Regions from separate parts of the Homo sapiens genome. Here regions 2, 3, 4, 5, 6 and 7 are each linked to region 1. Evidence: promoter capture Hi-C in 16 types of primary human blood cells and fetal thymus (Javierre and others, 2016). All regions are on one chromosome and are shown on one strand. Each heading gives the region's core, a stretch centred on a gene start or on the middle of the fragment in contact. The rest is flanking DNA. Distances are from core to core; before and after follow the strand shown. Region 1 holds the start of RGS2 (regulator of G protein signaling 2). Region 2 overlaps RGS2-AS1 (RSG2 antisense RNA 1). Region 3 has its middle 51 kb from the start of RGS2-AS1. Region 4 overlaps UCHL5 (ubiquitin C-terminal hydrolase L5). Region 5 overlaps LOC105371664 (a long non-coding RNA gene). Region 6 overlaps LOC105371664 (a long non-coding RNA gene). Region 7 has its middle 11 kb from the start of RGS2-AS1.

Region 1 (3,238 bases), core at 503-3,002:
AGCCCAGGCTCTAACTGGGTCTCCTGACAGAAGTCCAGCTCTCTCTCTCTGCTGCCTCTTTGTCAGAACTCCTGGCCTGCCAGCGAATTTAACTGTCTATGAGTAAATTCTAACATCTAAGGTTCTAAGTATAAAATATATTGAGGTTTACAGTGGTGAGAAAAAGCAAGTGTCTGCGTATTACAGACAGCTGATAAATACGTATTGAGTCATCAGAAAGTGAAAATAGATGTAGGACTATTATGCAAAGCATAGGAGAGGAAGAGCATATGCTTAAGAAAAAATGGCATTCCTAGAGTTAACAAGCATGTTTCAAAGTATCTATTACTGAAATCTACACGATTTTCCTTTCCACAATAAAGTCCACAACTGTTGTCTTAAATAATAACTGCAGGTTTTGCCCTCCAAGTCAAACTTGGAGCTCCAACTACTGGCAGCTCACCGTAAGAATATATTAATTATTTCCAATTTCCTTTTAAGAAGTCGAATACAAAGTAGAGAGAATATCTGCAGCTTGGTTGCAAAGCCGCTTAAACATTTCACTGGCTAGTTCTGGTAATATTATCCGAAATCAACTCATTTTGTGGTTGAGGTAATCTATTTGTCTTTACCAATCAAGTCGTTTTAAAACCTTCAGGAGTAGAGATGATACTTGAAGAATTAACAAATAAAACTTAATCAAGGAAACTGTTAACTCATTCTCCCCCCTACTTTTTGCCAGTTATTAAATGTTCTGGTAAATCCTAACTCAACAAGAATGACTCATGAGGAAATCCTGACTCCTTGAACTCACTGATTCTGGTGCATTACAGCTATGAAATCTCTATGTCTGCAGCTTTCTCTCCCACCATAAGGAAATCTGTGATTTCTATTTTGGCAGGAGATGTGACCAAGGACTCCTGAGGAATGACCCTATAGACAGACCCAGCCACGTGCCTAGTAGTGATCAAAAATGCAAACCCAATTAAAGCACTGTCTTCTGATAAAGTCACTTTCTCTTGTTCAATCCCTAATGTTCATTCTCAAAGTGTTCCAAGACGCCCCAGCAAGCTGCAGAGCAGATCCCACCCTGCCCCTGGGCAATCAACGTTTCAGGTTACTCCTTCCTTAAGTTAAGTGGCAGAGAGAAACGGGCGAGGGTCTCCCCATTGCCTCAGTTCACAGACCAGGGGGTGTCGAATGAGTCCTACAGCAGGACAGCAAACAAGAAATGAGGCGCGGGGTCAGGGAACGCGCTCAAAAAAGGAAGAAAAATCCCACTCTTCATTCGAAATCAGGCCACTGCACTCCGGCCTCGTGGCGGGCGACCTCCTCCTGCCAGGGAATCGCCGCTCTGGCCTCGGGCTGGGGAGCCCGTCAGGGTGGGTGAGGGAGCGCCGGCGCCCCCGCCGGGCCGCCGCCAACTTCGGCTCCCTCCCTCCGTCGCAAAGCCCTCGAGCCCGCCCGGCCGCCACGCTTCAGCAAAAGGTCGTGCGCAGCGGCCCACACTGAAGACTCTCCATCTGCTCCCACACCTGCCCCAGCTGGCCGCTGCTATGTGGCCCGAGTGCGCAAGAAGCCGGGGCCGCAGACGTCAGCAGCGCCCCGGCTTCGAGACCCTTCGGCAGCAGCCGTGACTGCCGCCGGCGGGCGCTGACCCATCCCCGTGCCAGTCTGCAGCCGACCAATCCGCGTCCTCTTGAGGCGGGGCCGGAGCCGCGAGGCCCCGCCCCCAAGCCGAGGCCTCATAAATGCTGCGACGCACGCCCAGCCGCAAACAGCCGGGGCTCCAGCGGGAGAACGATAATGCAAAGTGCTATGTTCTTGGCTGTTCAACACGACTGCAGACCCATGGACAAGAGCGCAGGCAGTGGCCACAAGAGCGAGGAGAAGCGAGAAAAGATGAAACGGACCCTGTGAGTATGGCTTTCTTCCCTCTCCCGCCACCCCCTGCCCCACACTGCAAGCTGCAAACGCGGTACTTTCGGGCTCGCCTTTGACGTTAGGAAACTAGCCTGAGCCTATGCAGGGAAAAAAAATCGAAAAGGTCAATTTGTTAAGTAAGGTTAAATCTGGGTGATGCTCGGGTACAGTTTAAGAACCGAGGGAGACAGTTGATATGAGGGCGGTGGTTGATGCGCTAAGAAATTGCGGGTTGGCTTTTTGTCCTCCTGCATTCAAAATGACATCAGAATCCTGCGGCTGAAGCGCGTCCCCAGCATTCATACGTTGCATGATGAGTTCTCATCAGCTTACACAGCTACTGGAAGGTGATGCTCTTGCTGGTTCTGAATATACTCGTTTAAAATCCATTTTTGTTTTTTAATTATAGAGCAGATCTCACCCAGTCCGAATGTGGAACAAATAATTGTTATGCAGCGTCTGCTTAAAAGAAGTGTCGTAGGTGGGGAAGGAAGAGCGCAGGGGAATCAGTCACCCACCTCTTTGTACAGTCTCTGGCGTGGTCCAGAACCTCCTGCTCTAAAGAGAGAAGCGTGGGCCGGCTCCAGACAGTTCCATGTCTGTCCTTTTCATTAAAGTGCAAAACGTCTCGGAATTGTAATTAACCTTGCAAACAAACTGATGCCCTTTGTGAGCCAGAAATAGTGTCTGCCTTTTGAACTAAATTCATTAACAATTCTTTAAAATACCCTAGTGATTATAGGTAGCCCTGCCCTTAGTTGTAAAACTAGTAGATACGGTCAGATTAATGGACGAAACTGCTCAGTACATGAGGTTTAAATGTTAGGTGGATAAGACTTATTTGAAGAGTTCTTGCTTTGCCTTATGCGGTTTGTCTCTAGTTACTGGGTGACTTTATTTGGTAAAAATGCGTTCAGCTGCAGTAGCATATTCAAGTGTTGCTAGTTAGTAATTATCTTTTTAATTTTTTGTTTTAGTTTAAAAGATTGGAAGACCCGTTTGAGCTACTTCTTACAAAATTCCTCTACTCCTGGGAAGCCCAAAACCGGCAAAAAAAGCAAACAGCAAGCTTTCATCAAGTAAGTTGAGAATCCTGTGCTTGCAAATATCAATAGTTAGCTGCTGAACTGAAAAGGGGAACTCTGATGTGCGTAAGCTAACATACAGAACCTCTCTTGCAGGCCTTCTCCTGAGGAAGCACAGCTGTGGTCAGAAGCATTTGACGAGCTGCTAGCCAGCAAATGTAAGTTAACTCTTGAGCTTGAGCCATTGCTAACATCGCAAAAGCCTGGAAAGGCTGCGTCCACCTAACAAAAGAGCAGCTTGCCTGAGGGGG
Region 2 (2,889 bases), core at 361-2,860, 130 kb after region 1:
ATGTAAATTTTTGTAATCATAGAACAAAGGATATAGGGAACTAACTCTTTGTTCTTAACCTGAAGCTTTAGATCCTTTAGACTAATTCTCTTGGAGTAGAGCAGCACATCCAAAGTGGGGCTCCGGACTGGGATCAGCCAATAACACATTTCTCACCAGACCAGGGGGAAATAACAGACATAAGAACAATGTAGGGAATTTTGTATAAAACTAAATCTATTCTGTATTTTATTTTAATGTGTGTACATTTAAGGAGCACGAGCACAGTTTTGTTACATGGATAGACTGTGTAGTGGGCTTTTAGTATAACCATCACCTGAATAGTGTACATGGTTCCCTCCTCTCACCATCTACTCATCTCTCACCCCCTCTCACCCTCCCACTCTTCTGAGTCTTTATTCAGTATTTTGAAATTTATTTTTAATGTCTCTCATTAGCAAAACAAAAAGGAAATTGGCAATCCCATGTTGGTGTCCCCTAATGTATTTTTACTTTCTTGTTCATTAAAGCTGAAGTTCAGGGAACTACTGGACTACAGTTGTGTAGTTTCACTAGACGCTGAAACTAGCCAGAAAAAGGAAAATAAGCAGGGCAAAACACATAAAAACAAGCGAGCAATCAAAGAGTTAGAGGAAATTCCAGTGGTCTAGGAGAAAATGTGGAGGTGAAAAAGGAACTGAATTTAATAACAAATAAAGCATTAGTTTCCTGCAAAGTTGAAATAAATATTTTATTTTAAAAAAAGAGACATTGTACATTCTTCTTTTAAATTTTTCGTGCCAAATACCTAGTTTATACTTTGTATTTTTAGAAGAATCATTTGAGGCTTAAAATGCAAGGCGTGTGTATATATAAATGTCTTTCCTTTATGAGATACGTGTCTTCTGCACAGAGGGCTGTAAAAAATTATCTAAAATTTTTTTAATAATAAGAAAATTTTTGCCAAATAAATCTTTATTCTCATATTTTTTAAATGCTAAAGAACCTCTCTCAGTAGATTGTGTTGTCAATTCTAGCATGGAAGAATTAGAATCATGTTCTGGCTTGTGCAGTGCAGAGGAATTACAGGATATTTGCTGGGCGTTTCACCTTATAATTCACTTTTCCTCTGTGTGATCTTCTCTTTCTAATGTTGTTCTTTTCTTTCTCCTATAGTCAATTTACTTGCAAGCACCTACTCCTAGTTTGTTTCCTGAGTGGTTGTAGGTATCTGCCACAGGCTGATAAACTTCCCGAGGTCAGTTACCTCTTAGTCTTAGTCTTCTCTTAGTATCCCTGCAGAGAACCCAGGCCCATAGACTCATTTAAGCTTGTTTACTTACTTTGCCTTCCCTCAAAGAGCGATAAAGAAAATGACCTTAGCTCCATAATCCTCAACTCTGATTTATAGAACAAGGCATCCCATTAGTGGCTTTCATTTCCATCCTATCAGTCAATTGTGTTTTGGCAGGATACCTCAAAGTTAAACATCATAAAGCTAGATTTAATGTTAACTTATTGCTATGTAAATGGAAATATCCTTTTCATATTTCACTTTCTATTTGTGTTAGATCATAAAAAATTAAATCCATCTAGCTCTAGCATATAATAATGCATGTTTAGAGACAAGAATAGGAATCAGAAGGGTAGATTTGAAAATAAGTTTGAAAATGACAAAAAGATATTTAAATCAGACTTCATCTTTTAAAGAGCAAACATTTGTGCTTTATAAAATTCACTAAATTTATTTGTTTCCTTAAAATAATAAGAGGATAAAATTTGAAGCTCCATATGCAAGTTTTAAAAATGATAATTTTAAAATGTTAATTCTTTGTTAGCTAAGGAAGTATTTTGGATATATCTCTTCCACAATTTTATCTTCTTCTTTTCAATAATTATTTTTAACATAAATTTAGCTTATAATTTCATCATCAAAGCTTTAAGAAATCCATAAGTATTTTTAGCAACATTGTAAATCTCTCTTATTTCTATTCTGCTTTTTTCCATTCCATTTTTTATTATAGTTAAAAATAACTATAATACTAGCCCAGTGTGCATTCTTCCTCTTTGGGGTATATTTTAAGCAACTAACAATGAATCCAATTTGTCAATAGCTCAGAGCGCATATTAGACAGACAAATACATTAAGCACGGAAATTTGCATTGAAATAAACATACCATCACGACTTCTTAAATTAGGATTCACAGTAACTACCATTTAGTGAGTTCTTATCATGTAGCACACACAGTGCTAAAAATTCAATATGTATAAATACACACATACATATATACATACATATATAATCTTGTTTATTCTTTATAGTAACAGTATGAGGTAGGTACATTTAACGTTCCCATGTTACAGATAAGGGTACTGACACTTATTAAATGAAGATATTTGGTAAGAGGCAAAGCCAGAAATAAAATTCAGGTTCTGCCTGTCTAACTCTAAAATCTATAGACAATAACCTGCATAATTGCAAAGTGGGCAGACTGATAACCTTATAAAATCAGGATCACCCAAATTCAAAATGACACCCAACACTCTCTGACCCTTATTACATAATTTCTCTAGTGAGCAAACACTGTCATACTTTGCAAAGACAATTTCATACTTCCTCAATGTCTGTCTCATAGCAGCTGCTCAATAAAGATATGTTAAATAACAATAATAGCAAAGATTTAGATAATGCTATATACAAAGCACTTCTCTTTCTTTCCTATTTTTTTAAGTTTTAGATTCAGGAGGGACATGTACAGGTTTGTTACATGGATATATTGTGTGATGCTGAGCTTTGGGCTTCTATTGAACCTGTCACCCAAATAGTGAACACAGTACCCAATAGGTAGTTTTTCAACCCTTGACCCTCTCCCTCCCCTCTTTTAGTGTCCCCAGTGTCTGTTGTTCCC
Region 3 (3,315 bases), core at 415-2,914, 190 kb after region 1:
CCAGCAAACAGGAAACTGCCCTCAGACCCTCGTTGGGGCTGCTACTGTGCTCACCATTGGGAAACCTGAATGCAGACTTGCCTGACCCAGCTTTGCCTGCCTACCCACCTTGGTGGCAGAACATGGGACAGGGACCCCTAGGAGTTCCATGGCCCAGGTGATATGCTGGGACTTCTGAGTACTTCTCCTGGCTAACAAAGGTCAAACATAAATCCCACGGCCACTGTCACAGCTGTCTCTCTCCTGCAAGTGCAACCTACTGGCCAGGAGGTCAACCTGCACAGCCCATTATAACATCTACTGACACAATCACACAACCCTCAGGAAGAAGAAATCCTTTATGGACCTCAGCTACCACCATTGCCCACACCATCCTGGCTACTTAGGAGGCCTTGAGTCCCTTCAAGTACGTTACTACTACAGCTGGCATCTGAGAAAGCCACCACACTAAGGCCATTTATAACAAAGGAAATTTCACAGAACCTACACCACTCTCCGACTACCCCAATCAGGGCTGGTGTTTGCACCTGCCATTTGATGGACCTGAGAGCAAATGAGCCTCGTGCAGCTTCACCCAGCTTTGCCTAGCTCTGAGAGCAGAGCCTAGGCCATTGTGGAGTCCCACAATGTGGTCCATGGCCTGAGGCATCAAGAGAGCTTCTTTAGGTAAAAAAAGATCAAACACACACCCTACTGCTACCACTGCAGCTGACTCTTACCTGCCAATGCCACCTACTGGCCTGGAGGTCAAACTGCACAACCCAATACAAAAATCTGTTGACACCATGCACAGTGCTTGGGAATGTTGGGAATGAGAAAAGTTTCTCAAGACCTCCACCTTCCCATCTCTGCAGGTGGCCAAGAGTCTACTTACATGTCCAGTACACTGTTACTACAACTAGCATTTGAGAAAACCACCACACTGAGGCTATGTATAAGCAAGGAACTCATACAGAGTATTTGCCACCTGACAGCACTCACAAGCAAAAGAAACTATCATCAGAGTGAACAGGCAACCTACAGAATGGAAGAAAATTTTTGCAATCTACCCATCGGACAAAGGTCTAATATCCAGAATCAACAAGGAACTCAAACAAATTTACAAGAAAAAAACAACCCCATCAAAAAGTGGGCAAAGGATATGAACAGACAGTTCACAAAAGAAGACATTTATGCGGCCAACAAACATATGAAAAGAAGCTCAACATCACTAATCATTAGAGAAATGCAAATCAAAACCACAATGAGATACCAACTCATGCCAGTCAGAATGGCAATTATTAAAAAGTCAAGAAACAATAGATGCTGGCGAGAGTGTGGAGAAATAGAAATGTTTTTACACTGTTGGTGGGAAGGTAAATTAGTTCAACCATTGTGGAAGACAGTGTGGAGATTCCTCAAGGATCTGGAACCAGAAATACCATTTGACCCAGCTATTCCATTACTGGATATATACCCAAAGGAATATTAATCATTCTACTATAAAGACACATGCACACGTATGTTTATGGCAGCACTATTTACTATAGTGAAGATGTGGAACCAATCAAATCCCATCAATGATAAACTGGATAAAGAAAATGTGGTACATATACATATACATATACATATACGCCATGGAATACTATGCAGCCATATAAAGGAATGAGATCATGTCCCTTACAGGGACATGGATGAAACTGGAAACCATCATCCTTAGCAAACGAACACAGGAACAGAAAACCAAACACCACATGTTCTCACTCATAAGTGGGAGTTGAACAATGAGGACACATGGACGTAGGGAGGGGAACAACACACACTGGTGCCAGTAGAGGGTTGGGGGGCAAGGGGAGGGAGAGCACTCAGACAAATAGCTATGCATGCAGGGCTTAAAACCTAGATGATGGGCTGATAGGTACAGCAAACCACCATAGCACACATATACCTATGTAACAAACCTACACGTTCTGCACTTGCATCCTGGAACTTAAAGTAAAATAAATTAATAATAATAATAAGAGCCATCTATGACATACACACAGTCAACATCATACTGAATGGGGAAAAGCTAAAAGCATTCCTCCTAAGCACTGGCATGAGACAAAGATGCCCACTTTCACCACTTCTATTCAACATAGTACTGGAAGTTCTGGCCAGAGCAATCAGACAAGAGAAATAAATAAAAGACATCCAAATTGGAAAAGAAGTTGAATTATTTCTGTTTGCTGACAATATAGTCTTGAGCCTAGAAAACCCTAAAGACTCTTCCAAAAGATTCCTAGATTTGATAAATGAATCCAGAAGTTTCAGGATAAAAAAATCAACATAGAAAAATAGGTAGCATTTCTATACAACAATAATGATCAAACTAAGAAACAAATCAGTAACTAAATTCCATTTACAACAACTACTACAAAAAATCCATTTAACTAAAGAGGTGGAAGATGTACACAAGAACTATAAAACATCGAATTTATAGCTTCATTGTAATTCCTATCAAAATACCAATGTCCTTATTCACGGTTAGAAAAAACAATCCTAAAGTTCATTTCAAAAAAGAGCCCAAATAGCCAAAGCACTCTTAAGCAAAAAGAACAAAGTTGGAGGCATCATAGTACTTGACTTCAAATTATACTACAAGGCTGCAGTAACCAAAAAAAGCATGTTATTGATATAAAAATAGACACATAGATCAATACAACAGAATAGAGAACCCATAAATAAAGTCACATACCTACACACAACTGATCTTCAACAAAATCAACAGAAACTTAAACTGAAGGAGGGATACCCTAATTCAATAAATAGTTCTGAGAAAACTGGATAGCCATCTGCGAAACAATGAAACTAGATCCCTATCTCTCACTATATACAAAAATTAAGATGGAGTAAAGACTTAAATATATTACCTGAAACTATAAAAATTCTAGAAGAAACCCTAGAAAACTTCCTTTGGACATTGGCTTAGGTAAATGTAACAAAAACAAAAATAGACAAAAGGGACTTAATTAAACTAAAAAGCTGCTGCACAGCAAAAAAAAAAAAAAGAAAGAAAGAAAAAAGAAAATTATGAACAGAGAGAACACGCAACCTATGGGATGTGAGAAAATATTTGTAAACGATACAGCCAACAAAGGACTAATATCCAGAAGCTACAGGGAACTCAAACAAGAACAACAAAAAAAGCAAATAGCTGGGCACGGTGGCTCACGCCTGTAATCCCAGCACTTTGGGAGGCTGAGGCAGGCAGATCACCTGAGGTCGGGAGTTCGAGACCATTACGACTAAAATGGTGAAACCCCGTTTCTACTAAAAATACAAAAAATTAGCCAG
Region 4 (3,245 bases), core at 546-3,045, 210 kb after region 1:
TTTATACACTTTACAGATATGATCTCATTTAATCATCAAGAATGTGAAGTAGGTATGATTCCCAGTTTACAGATGAGAAAGAGGTTATAAGAAAGTAAATAGTGCCTAAAAGCTCCAGCTAATAAGTAACATATATATAAGATTTAAATTCAAAGCCTGTATTTTGGTCTGTTTTTGTTAAAAAATAAAAATAAAATCATATAAATAACATGGAAAAATATATACTGTTAAAAATACTTTCCTTCTATACAGTGTACCAATGATATTAAAAAGTACTGACTCAAATCAGATAATTCTGCATTAATAGATACTAATGTAGATATTGTTGTGATTAGCCTTAACTATTCTTCTACCTTATTTCTATTAAGAAATAGAAAAAGATCTGAAGCTTACTTATTACCAATTGAATCACAAAGTCATAGTAAAATGTGGACAAAATTCAATATTGTGAAGTTGTTTGGATTTCCCCATAGCAATGGAATTTATGATTTTACATCACGTTAAGTTATTGGTAGTTAAAAATTTAAGATAGACAATGATTCATAATTACATACAAATGTGTAGACAAAAATTTGTTAATCATAAATATACCTGAATAAATAGAAGTCTCACAAATGTAATCTTAAACTAGATAATTTTATTTTATATTTTAAGAAAGAGATTTGGTACATAATACAAGAAGTTTTATAACTATATATTTTTGGATTACCTCCTAGGCAGTTTTTAAATGTGGTGTGTATTCAACGAATTCATCGGTTAAAAAGTCTCACATAACAAAAACATTTATAGGTTCTAACCAAGTTCATTATAGCCATGCCGAGGGAGAATCACTTTTTATTTATTATTTTGCAAATAAAAAGATTTTAGGTCAAATACTTTTATGTCATCACAGATTATAGGCAACTGCCTCAGCTATTCAAAAATCTCATCCTGTAGAATCTCAGCATATAGTAGCACTGCATGGTGCAGCCATATCTTTCCTGTTTGTTTCCTTCTATTCCTTCTCACACCTTGTTCTTTTATCCTATTTTCCCTGAAAACAAAACACAGTAAGATCCACTATTCCAACTTATCTATTTCTGAATTCTATAGGTAATTTTTCTTAGAAGTATTACCATTAAGTAATTAACTATCACTGGTAAAGATTTTATATAATTATAAAATCTAATCTTTATTCTAACAGTTTTTCAACACGCTTTATTTTTTAAATTTGCATTTATCTGCAGAAAATGATATTTTAATATGGTATCTTTTTTTTCCAAAATAAGATGAACAAAAATATATTCTTGCAAAGGAAACGGATATAGTGCTACAGATTAAGCACTTAATTCCCACCACATATTTAAAACTTTATGGATGTGAAATTTTAAGTGGCTATAAAGCTATTTAGGAGCTACCCTGTGCTTGCTGGGGATCTTTAGCCTGACTTTATCCTGGCATTTATCAAAATAATACTATTTAGCACAATACCATAATTGTTCATTTATTCCTTTCCCAAATTGTACCATGAGTTGCTTAAGAGAAAATAATATGTCTCAGTTATGTATACATCCCTAGACCTTAACAGAGTGCCTGGAATATCCTCGCAGCTAGATAAATGTTTGATGAATAATTTAAAACATTTCAACAATTCCAATTAAATGAGTCTAAGCTCCTTCAGAACCTAGGAGAATAATAGTTATTGCATGTATATAAGAAATAAATCTATCTCAATATTGCTTCTGGAATATTAATAAAAGAACAGCTTAGAGAAATAAGCAACTAGAAGGTCAATAACTACTTTCCTTAAGAAAATGAAGGCAAACACAACAGAGTTGGTGTTCCACTAACATCAGGTATTTATATGCTGCCACCTTGTGTCCAAAAAATGTGAACTAAGGAATAATTATTCTAATGTTAAGCTGACAAGCTGTTGTTCTCTAACTATGCTCTCAAAAAAATCTGGGGATATAGTGTAATTAAAAATCAAACAACAGTGGTTCTTTTACTTACTAATTTGCACACACAAAAAATTCTGTTCACAGATCAATTTTAATGCAAAATTTATACATTTAATATTTATCTAAGGGTCCTAGTCCCTAGTAACATTTATCTAACTTAAAATCTGATGTATCACATATTTAGCACATTTTATAGTTATTTTAATATTTTTAACAGAAAAACATTTGATATGATTAATAACATCATATCTAGGTATTCTTGTTAACCAAGCAATTTTGAGAACCACAGGACCCTGTATTAATCTAAAACTTTAAAAACAGTTTCCCATCTTAGAATACACCCTGAGATGCATGAACAGAAAAACCTATAATGGAAAAGAGAAGATTTAGCAGTCTTCTGCAATAATTTTTACATTTAATGCTAAAAGTTGGGTCACATGTTTCAATCAATAAGGTAATATACACAAAAAACTTATTAGCTCACATCTCATATTATTTAGAATGTATAACATGAAACAGCTTGGTTGAAATCAATCTTTGCTTTGTAAACTTTAAAATTAATAAGGAAAATATACCTACCATGTATTCTCGTCTTTAAGTTAATGGTCCAAAATTTTATTTGCCTAGTAGTGTCTTCTCAAAGTGTTTCTCAAACTGTGGTACACAGACCAGTTGCATTAGAATCACTTGGGGAACTTATTAAAGAATCCTTCCCCTATATCAGAATATCTGGGGAGGGGCCAGGTAACATGTATTTTAAAGAGTATCCACTGATGTTCACTTTCAGAAACACTGATTTACAGTATGAACTTAAAAACAATTTAACTGCATTTTACTTATTCAACAAATATTTTATTGTTACTTATGAAAAAAATCATAGAAATCAGAATTCTTCACTAACTTATGCTAGTTTTCCCTCAGTGGAATGGATACTAAATTAGAAATAAGAAAACCTATTTCGTAGTACAGGCTATTTTTTTTTTAAACCCAACAATGTCCATTCTACTTTTAAATTCTGTTATATCAACTCAAATTTTTGCTAAATAGGAAAATATTATTTCAATTATCAGCATTAAAAATCTACTTTTGCTTAAAGGAAGTGTTTTAAATTTTATTTTAATACAGCATAACCTGAGGTCTTGACACTAAGAATCTGGAAGCCTAAAGCAGTGGGGTAATTCTTTATTTTTGTTTTACAGTCTCAATTGAACTAATTCTTACAGAGTAGAAAACAAGAGGCAAAAGCAAAAGAATAAAAACGTACAAGCTTCCAAAAATTTTACCTCTATTCAAGCAAAAAATAAA
Region 5 (3,315 bases), core at 116-2,615, 210 kb before region 1:
CTCCCTATCATTCCTGGCAAATATGCGTGTTTGCAAAATGAATGATAATATCACTCAATTCATCAATAACCTTTAACAACAGTGTTTACTATAATATTTGGGTTGGAAATGTGAAAGGAAGACAAAAACTGAACAGTTCCTGTGGGTAGCTAAAACAGAGGAGAAAGGGAAAAAACATTCTCCTTTGGTTCAGTAGCAGTTTTCCATGGAATAGAAAACATTGCAATCTTTACTCAGGTATTATATGTTTTTCTGGATGAAAGTCTTATTTTGGGTTGCATTATTTTCATCATTTGCAATAAATGTATGCCCTTTTAATGAGACTTTGTGTTTAATCTTATTGTTCTCTTACCATAATTATCGTATATCCGATAGAAAGAGTTTTTCCTCAGAGCAGATTAGAATCACAGGGGACAGAAAGAATATGGGTGGAAAAGAGAAGACGTTCTGCATAAGAAAGGGTACAAAGTTGCTATAGCAGTTCTTGAAAGAAACTGATAGCTACAAATTGAGAAAAGAAAGAAAGAATAAAGGAGAGAAAGGGGCCAGAAAACTCAATAGGGGTAGGGAGCAGGAGGGGTAGGGAGGAGGAGGAGGTAGGGAGCAGGAGGGGTAGGGAGGAGTAGGGGTTAGGGAGGAGGAGGGGTGGGGAGGAGGAGGAGGTAGGGAGGAGGAGGGGTAGGGAGGAGGAGGGAGGAGGTGGTGCAGCGATGGGGCATGTGCATGTCTATTGCTTCGTTTGAGGTTATTTGTCTTGTTATACTGTAAAGCTCTCCATTTCATCCAATTTCCAACACACATACACATAGTTGGGTATATTTCCCTTCATAACATCTATTTATTTATCTAAGAAATGTTTTGTGCGGATGGAGACACATTTTTTAATTGTTGCTAATTAAGTGAGGAGGAGACTAAGCTTGTCTATGTCAAGGTTTTAACGATTAAGCAAAGCTTCTAACGAAACAGGAAAAAGAAACTTAAGAAGCAGTGGAAACCATGAAATATAAGCTCTCCAGCTCTCCCTCCTCCCAGAATTCACAGAACACTAGGTATGGTTTTTTATTTACACAGGCTATGAATTGAAGTTTCAGGGTTATTTTTACCTAGGATGTAAGCGAGAAGAAAGCCTCAAGAGAAATGAATTACACATAGTTCCTAAGAACAAATTCTCTAATATGAACTGAAATACAATTATTAAAAGATGGTTCCAGAGAAACATATAGATCGATGCATAGAAATTTTACTAAACTGAACTCAGAACTCTCCTTGACTTTAGATATCCAATCTGTGTTTTCCTTACTTTTAAAGACACTTAGAAAATGTATCTAAGAAAAGTTGAAGATGTTTCTGGTTGTTTACAAGAAACTGTTTCAAGTGATGAATGACAGAGGCTAGACTTCAATCCCATTTGCGACAAGAACATTTGTTCTCTTTCTTCAGTGAGTGATTGTGAAGTGGCAGAAAGAAGTGGGAATTAAATCTCAACAAAAGTGGCTTTCTCAATTGTGTCTTATGAAGTATAGATTTCCTAGAAGTGGTTTTCATAATAGAACACAATTTTTGACTTCATGGAAATCAAAGCATCACTTTAAATCTCTCAGAACTCTATGATTCCTGTTGGATATTTCAGACCCTCAAAATTTAATCTGGAAGTTAAACATAACAATTCATAAAAGAAGTCCTTTATTGTCTGCCAAAAAAAAATTTTAACTGTCAATTTTATTATTTTAGAAACCTTCTTCATATTATAAGTGGTGATCATGGTGGCTAGTTTTAGGTGTAAGCTTAGCTAGACTATGGCACAGAGTTACCCAGCCAAACAGGAATCTAGGCATTGTTTTAAAAAGGTACTTTGTAGATGTGGCTAACATCTACAATCAGTTTAAATAAAGGAGATCATCCTCAATAATGTGGGTGAGGCTTACTCATCCAATCAGTTGAAAGTCCTTAACAGCAAAATTGAGGTTACCCTCAGGAAGAAGAAATTCAGGCTGAAGACTGCAGCATCAGCTTCTGCCTGAGAGTTTACAGTGTGCTTGCTTGCCCTACAGATTCGGACTTGCAAACCCCCACAATCACAGGAGCTAATTCCTTGAATATATTTATTTCATAAATAAATATATATGTAATCATACATATATAATCATATATTTTATATAATGTTTGTGTCCTACTAGTTCTGCTTGTCTGGAGAGCTCTGACTGATACAGTGGACAAATGCTATTGACAATAGGCTTGCATAATACTAACAAGAACAGACGTGAGAGAGATGGTTATCCTAGCAAAATAATGTAATCGTTAAGTTTTTTAGATAACAGACACATAAAAATATATTCTTGAGCTGAGAAAAATAAAAGCCAATTAAAACACGAAGTCAAGCAATATGAAAAGATGCTAAAGATAATTTGATTACTACCCAGCCTACATCTTAGGATTGTATGGAACAATAATCATCTTGGAGAAAAATATGCTACTTCATTTAGTATTAAAATACATGTCTTCCTTCCCCCCCTAAATTATAATCTCCTAGAAGGCAAAGAACACGTCTTCATTTTAGAATGCCTTACTCACAGTAAGTACACAATAAATGGTTGCTGGATTTAAAAAATGAATAAATTTGTATCCTGAGTATTAGTTACTCAACACCTATTGACTAAATGCCTCCTATGTTCCAGCACTGTGCTAAGTTTTGGGAGCACAGTGGTACACACATTAAGTCCTCCCCTCATGGAATTGTGCTGTGGCTTACCTGACCTGGTGACTGACACAGGTGCCTAGGGATGGTATTGCCCAAGTATCATTAAAAGGCTGCTGCCTTTAGCAGTTCTCTGCAAATCTGATATGCTAAGTTCAAACAGAAAATGGGTAAAGGGTGATGAAGTGATCTTTTCTTAATCAAGGCTACTGCAGAGTCCAGTGATGAGAATCAGGCAGAGCATCTCTTTTACGTATAGGTAATATAACTGCAACAATAAATAACACATTTATAGAAAAGTGAAAAAAGAGGAAAAAAAGATTATCCTGATTTATGTCAAACTCAGAAATTAGCAGTTTATTTCCCAGAACATTTAGTTTGCTTTCTTAACTATTATCTACTTAAACCATTTTGTAGAGACAATATGGAGATAAGGACATGGCCAGAGTTGTCAGACAGACCCAAGCCTAAAGCCTAGCATCACCACCAGCTATGTGACTTTGGACTAGTTGCTTCACATATCTGAACCTCAGTGTTCCCAAATATAAAATGAGAACAATAACTGACTGCCAGCCTGCGTGTGTATGTGTGTGTGATAGTGTGACAAATAAAGTACTGTG
Region 6 (3,047 bases), core at 537-3,036, 190 kb before region 1:
GTTTTATAGTTTCTATTCAGCAATTCTATTAGCTGAAGGTCTTAGGAATCTAATCTCGCTTCTTTTTTAATCTGGTATGTTTTCATGAGGGTTTGTTTGCTTGTGTGTTTGTAAATTTTGGATATTAAGCTCATCTTCAGCATAGATTTATCCATAGGAGTCTTGTGTGGCCTGTGTTTACAGATGTCATTCCGGGGATATATTGTCTGCTTTCTGCTAGGTGCCCCAAGGATATTACCAGCCCAAACTATTTTTACATTGATTCCTCACTTGAGAGTTTTAGGAGCTCATGGATAGGGTAAATTTAAATCCCATTACCATGATTACAAATTATCACAGAAGGCTTCATTTTTTTCATCTGCAGCCCAGGGCCAAGAGAGCTAAGCTTTCTTGTTGTCTCCTATGCCACTGGAAAGATATTTTCTAGTTCAACCTATTTCTGATGGTTATCCCTCTGAAAAACACAGATTAGAGGGTTGGTGGATCTCAATACAAACTTCCCACATGTACATGCATCATACCCCAGGTGCTAGCTTCCTTCTTTTTCCTTAACCAGGAAAGAAACAAAAAAGATTATTTGCCAGGCTGAGTCACAATTCCAGTTTTCCATCCTACCATTATGATTTTCAATTCCCACTTTGTATAGGAAATTGAGAATTTTCCTTTCTTACTAGTAAGAGCAACCATGAATTTAAAATAATTTTAAAACTATTTTAGCCAGAAAATCTCTTTGTTTTGTAATGGAAGCATTTTCAGTTACTTGGTTGGTTCAAAACATTGCTGGAAATAAAAATAGTCACCTTCTTTCCCATTCATTTACAATCTCCTTGAATTGACAGCAACAGTGTACATAAGCTAGGGGTAACTACAGATAAAATACTGCTTTCCATTATAAGTGAAAACACTGTTCTCAAATAATGGCCATGATCACTAATCTTTTAAAGGTATATATAGTGAATTGGCATTATCATGGGAAAATATTATCAGCAACAAAATAATATTAATAAAATTTATCAATTATTAAGCACTTGAGATGTATTAGTTATTACTAATCCTTATAATAATTTTCCTCAGAAAACTAACATTTATAATATAAAGTAACTTGTTCATAATCATGCACATAGTTTGATGACTCAGTTGGGAATATAGGTCCTTCTCTTTCTAACACCAAAATTGGTTATCTGTACATCAAGGGCTTCCATATGTCATAATTGACCATGATTCATGTTGCTTATTTGGGATTTGTTTATCTAGCAACTCTTTAACTCAAGCTTGCCCAAGTAAAACTCTCTATCTTTGTCTTGTTCGCTATATTCACGTCTATCAGCATGTATATGCAGAACTTATTTAATCTGTAAACCTGCCTAAATTGTTGCAAATAGAGATTAAAGTCATAAAAAATATGCAAAATGCAATTAAGCATACAGACTGTGTCTTATTTATCTGTATAATCTACTGTTTCACATAGTACATGACTTTTTAATACATAAAGTCAAAGTGATCTGAAAATACTTTAATTCCTAATATTGTAAATATTTATCTAAGTGCTTCATAAAGTACCTTATAGCTTACAATAAAATATATTATAAATACAATCTTTCTTATAAATATTGAAACATCAGTCCTTAGCACTATGTCTATAAAAACCTGGAACATTTATTTTATGCAAAAAAAAAGAGAACAGCTGAATTTTAAGATTTAAAAATTTAAAACCATAATCTGTCAAGTAATAAATGTGTGAAATTTCACTGGGGCCTGTTGTGGGGTGGGGGGAGGCGGGAGGGATAGCATTAGGAGATATACCTAGTGTTAAATGACGAGTTAATGGGTGCAGCACACCAACATGGCACATGTATACATATGTAACTAACCTGCACGTTGTGCACATGTACCCTAAAACTTAAAGTATAATTTAAAATATATATATATGAAATAAAAAAATAAGTGTGTGAAATTTAACAAATTTAAGTGTGCAAAAATCTTTATTTTTTTAAAGTGGACATATGTTCTGTCGGTAAGTTTAGACTTGCTATGAAATAAACCACAATGTAACTTAAGCCATGGAGTTCCGGGAGGACTGTGGCATCTTGATGTGATCCATGGCAATAACCAAAAAATAGGACACATTTCTGTCATCCCTCACCCTCCTCCACTTCCAGGATTGGCCTGGGACAGGAAGGTATAGCCACCCTGTGTTATAACTAAGTAACAAATATTAGTTTCCTGAGGAAAATTATTATAAGGATTAGTAATAACTAATACATTCCATTGCTTAGTAACTGGCTCTCATCTTCTCAGGAAAGAAGCTTCTTGCTGCTACTCAGACTTTTTTTCCCTTCTCTGATACTAAAACTCTTTATTTAACCTGGGAACAGAGGTGGAAAAATTTCTACTTGCCCCCAAAATTTATATTTTATATTCTGATTTAGGCATTTGAACTTTGAAAGCCCAGTAATCCTATTTTGTTGTTGTAGTTGTGTATCACCTGCACGCTGTGTATCATCCTTCCCTGAAGCAGTGGAAGCTGCAGGTCTGGCTGCCCAGATGTTTGGGATAGGTGGGAGTGGTAGAGTGTGGAAAGGTAAAGAAATTTTTAGAGAAAGAAAGTGATTTGCCTACTTGATCTACCAAGAAAAGACAAGTCGTGGAAGCCAATAAAAGTTGGCTTAAACAGGAGTAAAGATATTAGCTTGAACCACATAAAGTTATCCATATGCTACCATTTTTACCTTATAAAAACACAATTTCATATGGTTCAACCTAATAAAAGTGTTATGTTATGAGTCAGTTCATCTCACATAATGTATTCTCTCTTCAGCAGAAATCAAGGACCATTCTCAATCTTTATTTCCATGTTAAGGAGGAATATAATTTCCTTCATAATGCCATCCTAAGAGACTAGGGTTGTCAACTGTCCATCATCAAAGAGTTTTTCCATTTCATTATAATGTAAAGGCTATTTGGGCAGATTGTGAAGCCTAGGGAGTGGTACAGTATACTTTGGGGTATAAGAGTGTACACATTGAAGCCAGATGGCCTGGATTCTA
Region 7 (2,872 bases), core at 325-2,824, 150 kb after region 1:
GGCATGCCTGTAATCCCAGCTACTCAGGAGGCTGAGGCAGGAGAATCGCTTGAACCCGCGAGGCAGAGGTTACAGTGAGCTGAGATAGCTGCCATTGCACTCCAGCCTGGGCAACAAGAGCAAAACTCCATCTAAAAAAAAAAAAAAAAAAAAAAGTTTGCTACAATAATCTAGGCAAATCCTGTACTAACATATGGCAGCAGGACAAAGAGAAGTAGATGGACTGATGCAATGTTAAAGAGGTATTAGGAGGACAGGATCATGAAGGAGATGGAAGAATTGAATTTCACTCTGTAATTCTGGTTTGAGATCCTGGACTAATGGGAGTACCACTCATGGATATGAGAAAAGGTGAGAAATAAGAAGAAAGGTGAGAGACATAGGATAATATAAATTAGAGATATGTTGAGTGTAGCTGCTAGGATTGCATTCAAGTGAATGCAAGAAAATCTAATGTAGTGGTTAATTCTTATTTAGTCACACAGCAAAAACCTGGGAGTGTGCAATCCAGGCTGGATTCTGTATCTAAATAATGCCATCAGGTACCCAGTTCCTTTAGTTGTCCTGCTCTTCTTCCCTATAGTATATTCAGTCTCCATGGTCTCAAAACAACTACTGTACCTCCAGAGTTTTAGGAAGGAAAAAGAATAAGGAGAAGAGGTTACTCCCAAGTATGTTACATTTGCAAAATTTTTAGCATGGCCACCCTTAACTACAAATGTGTAATGGTTAATTTTATGTGTCAACTTGTCTAGGCTAAGGAATGCCCAGATAGCTGGTAAAACATTATTTCTGAGTGTGTCTGTGAGGGTGTTTCTGGAAGAAATTAGAATTTGAATTGGTAGACTGAGTAAAGAAAATCTGCTGACACAGGTGAAACATTATCCAAACTGTTGAGAACCTGAATATAATAAAAAGGTAAAGGAAAGGCTGGATGATCTCTAGAGGTCTTCTTGTGATCAGCACATCTGTGTTAGCTCTAAATCACATTCTTGTGCATTCTAAACCAGGCTTCATTTCTGTTACTCAAATTCCTAATTAGTAAAATATTTTAGAATAAATAAAAAATTTTAATTAAAAAATAGGACAAAACAGAGAATAATTCTAAGGAAATATATATAATTAAGTCAAAGGCACAGATTATCCTTAGACTGCTTAATTGATACCCAAATAGTTACTTGAATAATTAAGTTTTAATGATAGCAGTTACTGAATCTTCAAAATACAATTGAATAACTCAGTAAAATAATGGTGAACCCTATTGTTACAGATTTATACTACAAATTATCTTCAATGCATTTCTAAATTATGCTATCATGAAACTGCATATCCCTAGGGATAGCAAAGACAAAGCTAAACCAAATGTTGAAGACATTATTGTAATGAGTCAGGAGAAACCTGAACCTGGCCTGTGATGTCATTTGTTCTGCTCAACTGCAGTGACTTAAACAGTAAGGCTTATTTTATATTTATTATTATTAATCAAATAAATGGGAAAAATCAAGATAAATTAGTTGACTTTAGTCAATAAAAATCTATCAAATTTACAAAAAAGTAAAGCTCCTCTTTCTAAATATTATAAAGAAAATATCAACCTGAAATAGCACATTGCATTAAACTTCTCTAAATGCAAGTGCCATAATTAATTGTCCATTTCAAAATGTTTCAAGGTACCTCATGTTAGGACAAGCAGCATTATTAAAAGAGTAAATTAAGTGTGTGGCTTAAAATCTCTCCTGAGTTTTGAAACAGGGTTTCAAATTATTTCTAATTACTTAGAATTAGTTGGATTCATTCCATTTAATTCAATTTAACAAAATTTCTTGGTATATCCTATGCACAAAACACTGAAAAAAAATCTGAGAAGTCACAAAGATAAATAAGACATCAACTCTGTGCTTCTTTATCTATTTATGTTTTACTGATACATAATAATTGTACATATTTATGCAGTACATGTGATACAATGTGTAATCACCAAGAAAGAGTATTTAGGATACCCATCACTTCAGACATTTAACATTCCCTTGTGTTGAGAACATTCCAAATCTTTTCTAGATATTTTGAAATACATAATAAATTACTGATAAGCATTGTCATGCTACTATGCTATTGAACACTAGAACTTATTCTTTCTATCAAAATGTACTTTTTGTACCCATTACCTAACCTCTTCAGGAAATCAACATTATTTTAAATGAAGTAACACTTGTTGAACACCTTCTGTGTATCTTTCTTGCACTGCAATAAAACTTCATAACACTCTTTTTGACCTGTTTGACAGAGGAAGGAAACAAAACCCAGAGAGATGAAATGACTACCCAAGGGCATAGGGGTAGTTGTGGTAGGACTGAGATTTGAAACTAGCCTTGCTTTTCCTAAGTTCATTTTTTACTTTACTATACCACATTTAGCTGTAAGGAAAAATAAAAGAGAGAAATAGAATCAGCACTGGAAACTGAAAAGAACAGAAAAATAGATTAGGTCCAGAAGGCAAAATGCTGACCAGAACTTCCATTTGGCAAAGCCCCTGTGGAAAACAAGCAAAAGGAGCATCACTTAAAAAAAAAAAAAAAAAAAAAAGCCAACAGCAGGAATCCAGGTGGGAAAGGGAGGGGAGTGTGGAACAGAACATGTACCAACCTCAAGAATTCAGTGTGAGCCTTTAAGAGTGAGGCTTACAGGAGTAGGAAGAAAGAATTCTTTGTGAAATTGTATTTACAGAGAATGTGGTTTTTGAACTAGACTCCAAGGATTGGATAATTTTAGTAGGTGAAGAAAGGAGGAGAGGAAATTGGAGATGGGTCCCAGGAATCTACATTTTTAACAAACTCTTCCCAGTACTTCTAGTTGATGCTAAAATTTGAGAACT

The links. Contacts are between HindIII fragments. The CHiCAGO score rates a contact against its expected background, and 5 or more counts as called.
Region 2: a contact is called between a fragment that was not itself captured here and the fragment with the promoter of RGS2 in region 1, in 5 of 17 cell types (monocytes, M1 macrophages, M0 macrophages and 2 more). The highest score is 22.9, in monocytes.
Region 3: a fragment that was not itself captured here is called in contact with the fragment with the promoter of RGS2 in region 1 in 11 of 17 cell types (neutrophils, M2 macrophages, monocytes and 8 more); the score reaches 20.8 in neutrophils.
Region 4: a contact is called between a fragment that was not itself captured here and the fragment with the promoter of RGS2 in region 1, in 17 of 17 cell types (M0 macrophages, monocytes, M2 macrophages and 14 more). The highest score is 42.7, in M0 macrophages.
Region 5: a contact is called between a fragment that was not itself captured here and the fragment with the promoter of RGS2 in region 1, in 2 of 17 cell types (M0 macrophages and total B cells). The highest score is 6.3, in M0 macrophages.
Region 6: a fragment that was not itself captured here is called in contact with the fragment with the promoter of RGS2 in region 1 in 3 of 17 cell types (total B cells, naive B cells and M0 macrophages); the score reaches 8.4 in total B cells.
Region 7: a contact is called between a fragment that was not itself captured here and the fragment with the promoter of RGS2 in region 1, in 4 of 17 cell types (monocytes, neutrophils, M1 macrophages and 1 more). The highest score is 18.5, in monocytes.

The regions. Positions count from the first base shown.
Region 1 is chr1:192,807,287-192,810,524 of GRCh38, forward strand. It overlaps RGS2 (regulator of G protein signaling 2), which reads left to right and starts at 1,753. Exons shown (of 5, transcript NM_002923.4): 1 at 1,753-1,895; 2 at 2,880-2,981; 3 at 3,084-3,145. The coding sequence starts at 1,786. RefSeq lists silencers at 204-293, 1,230-1,439, 2,947-3,006 and an enhancer at 1,770-1,989. The HindIII fragment of the contact is 4,593 bases long and covers 1-2,969 here.
Region 2 is chr1:192,938,291-192,941,179 of GRCh38, forward strand. All of the region lies in intron 1 of RGS2-AS1 (RSG2 antisense RNA 1), which reads right to left. Among named protein-coding and RNA genes, the nearest start is that of RGS2-AS1, 8.5 kb to the right of the region's middle. The HindIII fragment of the contact is 607 bases long and covers 1,308-1,914 here.
Region 3 is chr1:192,998,000-193,001,314 of GRCh38, forward strand. No RefSeq gene overlaps it. Among named protein-coding and RNA genes, the nearest start is that of RGS2-AS1, 51 kb to the left of the region's middle. The HindIII fragment of the contact is 8,959 bases long and covers 1-3,315 here.
Region 4 is chr1:193,017,788-193,021,032 of GRCh38, forward strand. All of the region lies in intron 10 of UCHL5 (ubiquitin C-terminal hydrolase L5), which reads right to left. Among named protein-coding and RNA genes, the nearest start is that of UCHL5, 40 kb to the right of the region's middle. The HindIII fragment of the contact is 2,819 bases long and covers 387-3,205 here.
Region 5 is chr1:192,594,785-192,598,099 of GRCh38, forward strand. The region is part of intron 2 of LOC105371664 (a long non-coding RNA gene); the gene reads right to left. Among named protein-coding and RNA genes, the nearest start is that of RGS1, 21 kb to the left of the region's middle. The HindIII fragment of the contact is 833 bases long and covers 950-1,782 here.
Region 6 is chr1:192,616,408-192,619,454 of GRCh38, forward strand. The region is part of intron 2 of LOC105371664 (a long non-coding RNA gene); the gene reads right to left. All of the region lies in intron 1 of LOC107985241 (a long non-coding RNA gene), which reads left to right. Among named protein-coding and RNA genes, the nearest start is that of RGS13, 18 kb to the right of the region's middle. The HindIII fragment of the contact is 1,035 bases long and covers 1,270-2,304 here.
Region 7 is chr1:192,957,680-192,960,551 of GRCh38, forward strand. No RefSeq gene overlaps it. Among named protein-coding and RNA genes, the nearest start is that of RGS2-AS1, 11 kb to the left of the region's middle. The HindIII fragment of the contact is 7,616 bases long and covers 1-2,872 here.